Linked DNA regions of Homo sapiens: regions 1 and 2 are each linked to region 3. Evidence: promoter capture Hi-C in 16 types of primary human blood cells and fetal thymus (Javierre and others, 2016). All regions are on one chromosome and are shown on one strand. The core of a region is centred on a gene start or on the middle of the fragment in contact, and the rest is flanking DNA. Distances in the headings are between cores, read along the strand shown.

Region 1 (2,890 bases), core at 319-2,818, 190 kb before region 3:
CTTAAATAGTCAACAGTATGCATGGGAAGTAAATTTCCTTCCATACAGGCATACATTACTTCATGCAATAGTTGTGAAACAAGGACCACAGGGAGATGCAAGCAAATTACGTTTAAAAGACTATGGAGTAAAATTCTTTTGTCAGGTGGATTAATCTATCCCTAATGAATCTCTCCCGAGAAGCTTTTCCCTCCAAAGGTCTATCTTTTTCCAAGACGTTTATTCAGGGAGGTATCCTTCATATCTCCCTGAAAAGAAAGAAAAGTAAATAGTGGCTAATGCTTTTAACAATGATTAAAAAAATCAGAAAGGTCAAGGCTTTAAGGTCATTTAATGTGAAGAGGAAATAAGATAAATGTTCAGCATTTAAGGATTATCACTAACCCAACTTTTCATAAACACAGAATAGTGGAGGTGGAACCTGCAGAGACTTTTATTCAGGGAACATCCACTGCGGGACAGGCAGATGCTTTGGTATCCAGGCTGCTCCGCGCCGCCAGCTGCCCAAGTAATCCTCACAACAGCCCGCAGAGGTAGGTATTAACCACCCTTTGTTTTACAGGTGAGGAAACAGAGGCACAAGACGGTCAGGTAACCGGCTTGGAGTGATGAATGAAACTAAAATAAGCGCCGACCTCGAAGCTCATTTGGTCTTTCCCCAACCCCATGCGGCCTCATTAAAGAGACTTTTTTGATTAGCTATGGAGAAAACGTTCTTCATCAAACATGAAATGCAATCCGGAAGGCACAGGTTTCTCTCTCTCTCTCTCTCTCTCTCTCTCTCTCTCTCTCTCTCTCTCTCTCTCTCTCTCTCTCTCTCTCTCTCTCTCTCTCTCTCTCTCTCTCTCTCTCTCTCTCTCTGTCTGTATGAAGTGGCTTCTGGGGCCCCACGAAGCAATGTTCCCCCAAACAGCCCCGGACGAGGGTGTCTATAATTCATCCTGTTATAATTAACCCCGGGGTTACGGTATTGCTTCTAAAGCCCTTGTTGAAATGCAGATATGGACCTCGCAGGATTGACACGATCTCTCAATTACACCTAATTAAAGAGCTGGCTCTTTGAGAATCTGACCCGACTGGGCCAGGAGTGGGAAAGGCGGGGGCTGCCGGTTGGGGTGAGGGATAGGGTTCTGCAGTCCCGGGAAGGCAGGTGAAGGGTGGGGATCAGGATTGGAAGAGTCACTGGGTGCTCGGTGAGACGAGGGAGGTTGGAGCTGAACTAAAACAAAGTTTGACTTCTGGACAATTATCCAGGGAGAGGGCGGGGAACACACCTTGCCCGGACTGTCTGGGAATCCCATTGACAGGTCATCTCAGGTTCACCATCTTCCTGTCGTGGGCTCCTCCAGGGAGGCCACCCGGGAGCAATTAAACTGGGCCACACCAGCCACCTCCCACAGCAGCGGGGTCCGCAGATTTAACCCTTTCCCCCCAGATTCCGGCACTGGGTGCCGCGCTCTCTCCCCCAGCACCGCGCCCGCGCCCCCGGCTCCCGGACTGGGCATGCTCAGTAGCCGCCCGCTTCGTGCTCCCAGGGAAGCCTCTGCACGCCCTCCCCCGCTGCTCTCGGTCGCCTCCTCGCCGCCAGCCGCCCCGGGTGCATCCCGGCTTGCTCCGCTCCACGCGACCCAGATTCCTGCCCCGCCCCCGCCCCTTCCGCGCCCGCAGCCAGTGCGGCAGCCGCGGCCGCCCCTGTCCAGCCTCGGCGCCCGGGACCGAGCGCGTCGCTCGCCGCCGCGGAGCGCGTAGCCGGAGCGCCTGGGGAAGGCGGAGATGAAGACCACGCCGCCGCGCGCCGGGAGCTGCTGAGCCTACCGCCGCCAGAGTCCAGGTGATTGGCGACCCCAGAGGAGCCTAGGGAGTAGGGGCGAATGCCCTTGGGGAGGAGAGAGGTGCGGCGAGGACGCGAGGCATCACGCAAGCTGCGCTGTGCCTGGGAGGCAGCAGAAATGCTAAGCATCGGGGGCAGAGAGGGAACGGGAATGAAAGTGCACTCTGCCTTGGTGCAGGGGCTCCGGGGTCACCCAGGACAGTGATTTCCCCTTCTATCCTGTCCTCCCAATTAACACCCGAGAGGCTGCAGGTCGGCGCGAGAGGCTGTTTGCATCTCGGCCCGGGCGTAGGTCGCCTAGCGACCTAACGCCGAGGGCTCGGGGAAGGGATCCCAGACAGAGCCAAAATGGAAGGCGGGACAAGGGCGGCCTGGCTGGGGCGAGGGGCTGGTCTGGGTCCCTGGGAACCCCTTGCCTTGTGGGCTTCGGTCTCCAGGGAGGAGCTAGGCAGCCGGGCTGCGGGGCCGCCGGACTGTGGGGTCCTCCGCGCAGCGAGCTGGGAGGAGCGGTCGGCTGGGCTGTTGAGCTGCGCCTCCTCCAACTGCTGGGAAACTCCGCACTTCAATATTGGAGCATCTCTTTCCCGGGCAGGTAGAATTGGACAGCCGAGTGGGGAGTGACAGCTGACAGCTGACGGGGCTGTTAAAAGCAGAGCAGTGGAGTGTGGTGGTGGGGTGAGCTGTTGTGGGTGCTTTTTTTTGTTTTCCAAGTGTGGGTACGGGCTGTTCTGACTCAGTGTTTATGCTCAACCTCTAAGCGGCGAGTTCGGTAACACATCTTATGAATATTTCAGGAACGACCTCACGGGCTCACTTGCTTCAGATCAAGTTTAATGAATATGTTGTCAGCCTTTCTGCTCTGCACAGTGCCCTGAGCTTTCCACATTTCATCCCTTTCCCCCACCACCTAGGAAAATACGCTGCTAACCCCCAGTGGGCCGTAGATTGGTACTATCAATTGAGTCTGTCATTTGGAGAGACCAATTTTGGGCAGGCATCCAGGCATTGTTCTGCATCTCTGCAATGTATACGTTTTGTGCCGGTGGCTTGACAACCGTC
Region 2 (2,700 bases), core at 64-2,563, 210 kb before region 3:
ATTAGAAAGAATCTAACTTCCTATCAAACGAGGCCCAATTTTAACGTACGGCACTGGTATACAGAGTTTACATATAAATCTTTAGGACACACAAGAAATTGGTGATATGGGTTGCCTCCAGGGAAGGAAAATGGATCGATGAGTAAAGGAATGAAAGGGAGCTTTCTTCTTTCATGACTTTTGAAGTTAGTAGCTATTTAAACTGCATCATCTATTTAAAAAGAAAATAAAGATTTAAAATTTTTAGAAAAAAATTCACCCCATCACTTGTCACGGCACCCCGTTTTAACTCTTTGAATAACACTTACTACATATTTTCTTACACTCTCATTAATTTGTTTATTCTGTCTTTCCCCATAACTGAATAAAGAACACTCACTCCATGAAGTAGAGATTTTGTCTCTATTGTTCACCCTGTAGCACCCAGCACTTAAACAGGATTTAGCACCTAGCAGCCACTCAATAACCATTTGTCGAATAAACCTAAATCGACTTTGCTGTCTTACCTCCTAAACCTCCCCTCCTCCAGAATTCTGAGTTTGGTGGCCTTCTTCAACGTTTTCATTAACACCTAGCATGGACCTCTATCTCTAGAGTTCTCACATGGTATTATAATTGCCTGTTTGTGTTGGGCTTCGGCCAGAAAACTGTCATCTATTTAAGGGCACAGACTTGGTGCCTGACATACAACTGACAATAAATATTCAATGAAATCTATCAAAATAACAGGCTGACGCTACCAGAGGTCCAGGAGTCGCAGGGATTGCTCAAATAAGAGCACAGGAAGACTCAGCTGCGCAAGGGATCAGATCATCAGCACTGCCTTTGCATCGATGCAATCAGACCGATTGTCACCGGTCAGAAAAGCCCCAGAAGCGCCACACTAACACGCCCCATGTTGCAACCGTCCTCTCCAACCCCAAAGAAAACAGAAGATTGACACAGGCACCACGTGAGCGCCCGAACCAAACACAAACACATGCACCCTAAACACTGAGAGAACCACCCAACGCAGACACCCTACTGCCCACACTGCACCAAGGGCGCCTCTGGGATCCATCCCCTTTCCCTAGGTTCTCAGCCCTAGCTGGCAAGGCGGATAGAGAAGACCGGAAGAGGCTGAAAAGAGGAAGCGGTGATTTGCTGCCCGTATGCCCGCCAGTAAGAAGTGCCACACACCTCCGCTTCGGCTCAGGCCGGATTCTCACCATGCGTGTGCCTTCTTCTTTGCCAGCCTCTCCACTCTAGCACCAGAACACCGCAGCGGATACTTGCACGCCATCTCCCCTGGGCGCGGCCATGTTGGAGAAAACTGCACTACATTTCCCATGAGCCCGCGGGACAACGAACAGCGCTCCCACAGTCCTCTTCGCCTCCCAGAGCCCGGGAGTGACCCTTTTTCGACCAAGTGTCTTTGTAAAGTGCTGTCTGTTACACTGAAAATTCAGTTGTCTTTTTGGGGGGAGTAGTAATAATTGGTAGTGCAGCTATATTTTTATCTGTTGCTCTCCAAATGGACAAGGTCAAACAGGTTTGGGCCCTTTGGTCTTTCAGCAATGTCCCCTGGCACCTTCTATTCTTCGTGCATATTTCCTCCTGAATCTTATTAGAGGTGAGAAAGGAAAATAAATCTTGGTGCCACAAAATCACTAAGCTAAAGGGAAAAGTCAAGCTAGGAACTGCTTGGGCAAACCTGCCTCCCATTCTATTCAAAGTCATCCCTCTGAGTCATCCCTCTGCTCACTGAGATAAATGCATATCTGATTGCCTCCTTTGGAAAGGCTCATCAGAAACTCAAAAGAATGCAACCATTTGTCTCTCAGCTGTAATACGTGCGACCTGGAAGCCCCCTCCTCACTTTGAGTTGGCCCGCCTCTGCTTCAATTTGTCCCTCCTTTCTGGACGGAACCAATGTTCATCTTACATATATTGATTGATGCCTCATGTCTCCCTAAAATGTATAAAACCAAGCTGTGCCCCGACCACCCTGGACACATATCATCAGGACCTCCTGAGGCTGTGTCACGGGCGGGCGTCCTTAACTTTGGCAAAATAAATTTCCTAAATTGTCTGAGACCTGTCTCAGATATTCAGGGTTCACAGAGATATGGGAGAGGATCCTGGGGTCTGAAAGATGGCATTGCATGGGCGGGAGGGAAGGAAGTGAATATGCATGAATGTGCCAGGGGAATGGTGAGTACCACAGAGTAATAGAAAGATGTGTGGAAGAATGGTGAAGGAAGCAAGACAGAATTCTGTAGGCCTGCAGAGTGGGAGTTGCAGGGAGGAAGGTTAGAGAAATGAAATGATATGACCAGAGCTTCTTGTGGCAAGTGGGAGGAGAGACTAGAAGATGACTGATGAAGTGAAAAGTAACGAAATATTAACAAGCCCAGTAGTGGCAGAGGGAAAGAAAAAAGAGCTGGTAACAGATCATAAGTAAAAGACAAAGGAGAGGGTGATGATTAGCAGTTGTTCCTGCTCTGTTATTTGTTATATAAATGTACCATAATCCTTCTACCTGCATTGGTTTATGAGCTATGTGAGTGCAGGGAGGGAAAGGTGTAGGGGAAGAGGAATCACCTTCCCATGTTGTTGATACAATGGCCCCTATCTGCAGTGCACCACAGTGGACTAACAATAAAATAGCTGGCTGACCAGGAAAAGTGGCAGTGAAAAAAGAGTGCTGTTGAGTGGCGG
Region 3 (2,857 bases), core at 1-2,500:
TTTTGTATCTCACTATGTTGCCCAGGCTGGTCTTGTACTCCTGGGCACAAGCAGTCCTCCCACCTTGGCCTCCCAAAGTGCTGGGATTACAGGTATGAGCCACCATGCCCAGCCAGCCAAAAATTAAATCTTGTTTTAAGCCAATAAGATATTTGGTGTTGTTTGTTATAGTAGCATAACCTAATTCTATCCTGCCTGGTACAAGCCTTCATTTCCTCATTGGTTAAATGGAGATATAAATAGTATATGCCTCCTTAAGATGTGAAGTTTATATAAGACAATGTATGTTTTTAAAAAACAGTCCATTGCCAGGCACATACTATTGTTAGATCAATGAGAGTTATGAAAGGGAAGTGAAAAAGCATCACCCTAGATCATCCAGCTTTTTAATGATAGAACCTGTTTCTTCAATCCTAAGCAGTCGTCTGCAGAGTCTGTAAGAGTGTGAATCATCTACTCAGATATGCAGATTCTGGCTCCCAAATATAGTCATTTTCACAAACATTCATGTTAACACCGGAATAATCATATGTTCCTCTCACTCCCCTTCTATTTACTTTGTCATTTGTCAATAGCATGTGTTCCAACCATAGAAAATATAACCTATTGAATTAAGCTTTCCTTTTTCTAAATAGGAGTAGCACTTCCTCATCAAGCATCTTCTAAAATTCTTTGTTCTGTCCCATTTACGTTATGCCAAGAAAGACTTCCTGGAAAAGATTAATATGCAATTTAGAGATATCATATTTGGGCAATGTCTTGAATATTAAATCACTTTTTGCTTTGTTACATGGTAGGATTATTACTACTTACCCAAACAAAAAGTAGTGATTCACAAGTTTAGGATCTGATAGAACATAGGAAAAAGCATAGTTAATCAACAAATACAAATGCAATATTACTGAGTTCCTGTTATTTTTAAGGCTTTATGTTTGGTTCTATGTTGAATATGTAAAAAGTGTTTGTTTCTGACCTTTCCCATTCCATTGAGATTTTGATACACTGCAAAGCAGAATAAGGCATGTCTTGGTCCATTCACACTGCCATAACAAAAATACTATAGATTAGCTGGCTCATGAACAACAGAAATTTATTTCTCACAGTCCTGGAGGCTGGGAAGTCCAAGATCAAGCTGCCAACAGAATCCATGTCTGGTGAAGTCACTCTTCCTGGCTTGTAGATACACTGTGTCCTCTCATGGTGTAAGAAGGAATGAACTTTCTGGGTGTTCTGTTATAGCAGCATAAATGGAAAAAGACAGCATGGAAACCCCAGCTACTAGCACTACAAGTTCTCTACATCACACATTGTGTACAGACTGTGGCCTCCCCAATGGGCAGGCAGTGAATGTAATAGCTGATTGAGTGAGGCATATATGGAACCATCTGAATGCTTGTTTATGGTCAGTTGGAGCTAATAATTGTTCAAATGGCCTCTTAAAATTGGTACGAATTCTTTCATTTCCTTCTCCAAAAGTGTTCACATTTTAAATTAAGATTGCTGGAAGAGGCCGGGTGCAGTGGCTCACACCGGTAATCCCAGCACTTTGGGAGGTCAAGGAGGCAGATCACCTGAGGTTGGGAGTTCGAGATCCAGCCTGACCAACATGGAGAAACCTCATCTCTACTAAAAACACAAAATTAGCTGGGCATGGTGATGCATGCCTGTAATCCCAGCTACTCAGGAGGCTGAGGCAGGAGAATTGCTTGAACCCGGGAGGCGGAGGTTGCGATGAGACGAGACTGCACCATTGCACTCCAGCCTGGGCAACAAGAGCAAAACTCCGTCTCAAAAGAAAAGAAAAGAAAAGAAAAGATTGCTAGAAGAGGAAAGTATTTAAACCGAGGATTAAGGTACATTGTAAAAGTTTGAGCATTGGGAGAAGAAAGCTTGGAACATTAAATCCTACAGGTTTGTGCATGAAGGATGGGTAAAATTTTGTCGTTCTGAAGAGGCTTTGCTTCCTCTAATGCACCATTTATATATTGCCAGACTTCTCAAAACACCCTTTAAAGGACTACTAGAGAACTGCATGGTCAGCATTATCTAATTTCCTCATAAATCTCTTGCCTTTTAATCAGCTAAGTGGCTATCTGCTAAATTTCCCTGATTTATTGATGTATTTTGAAGGCTGAGGATATGTCCAGATACTAAGTGATTAAATGTAGATGAAATGGCACATCACCATAATTATGACAGAAAAGAGAATCGTGACTAGGCATACGTAAGACCTCACAGAGACAAACTGTAGACAGCTTCTTAAAAGGGCAGCCCCCAGCGTTGCAGATAAAACTGTATTACCAAGCTAGTTTTTCCAAGAAAATCATCCCAACAGCTCTCATTAGAGATGCATTTGTATTTGCTGTCTCAGCAGTGCCACAGCAACCATGACCCCTTCAGAATTTACAGAGCGGAGACTTTGGCTGCTGACTAAACTGAAAGGTTAAAATCCTGGTTTCTGTTTTTACCTTAGCCACCAAACTCTGTGTGACCTGAGACAGATATTTCAACTTTTCTGAGACCCCAATTCTTTGTTTGTTTTTGGTTTTTGGTTTTTTTTGAGACAGAGTCTCACTCTGTCGCCGAGGCTGGAGTGCAGTGGCACTGTGTTGGCTCACTGCAACCTCTGTCTCCTGGGTTCAAGCAATTCTCCTGCCTCAGCCTCCCAAGCAGCTGGGATTACAGGCACGAGCCACCACGCCCAGCTAATTTTTGTATTTTTAGTAGAGACCTGGTTTCACCATGTTGGCCAGGCTGGTCTCGAACTCCTGACTTCAGGTGATCCACCTGCCTCAGTCTCCGAAAATGCTGGGATTACAGGTGTGAGCCACCGCGCCTGGCCGGGACCCCAGTTCTT

What was found. The method cuts DNA at HindIII sites, captures the fragments that hold promoters and counts their contacts. A CHiCAGO score of 5 or more calls a contact.
Region 1: the fragment with the promoter of ELMOD1 here is called in contact with a fragment that was not itself captured in region 3 in 1 of 17 cell types (endothelial precursors); the score reaches 6.7 in endothelial precursors.
Region 2: a contact is called between the fragment with the promoter of ALKBH8 here and a fragment that was not itself captured in region 3, in 1 of 17 cell types (endothelial precursors). The highest score is 5.4, in endothelial precursors.

The regions. Positions count from the first base shown.
Region 1 is chr11:107,589,579-107,592,468 of GRCh38, forward strand. It overlaps ELMOD1 (ELMO domain containing 1), which reads left to right and starts at 1,569. Exons shown (of 12, transcript NM_018712.4): 1 at 1,569-1,831. RefSeq lists silencers at 1,452-1,561, 1,622-1,761 and an enhancer at 2,012-2,071. The HindIII fragment of the contact is 4,180 bases long and covers 182-2,890 here.
Region 2 is chr11:107,564,422-107,567,121 of GRCh38, forward strand. It overlaps ALKBH8 (alkB homolog 8, tRNA methyltransferase), which reads right to left and starts at 1,314. Exons shown (of 12, transcript NM_138775.3): 1 at 1,180-1,314. RefSeq lists enhancers at 665-1,183, 987-1,476, 1,184-1,700, 1,547-1,606. The HindIII fragment of the contact is 7,705 bases long and covers 1-2,700 here.
Region 3 is chr11:107,776,905-107,779,761 of GRCh38, forward strand. No RefSeq gene overlaps it. Among named protein-coding and RNA genes, the nearest start is that of SLN, 66 kb to the left of the region's middle. The HindIII fragment of the contact is 1,273 bases long and covers 615-1,887 here.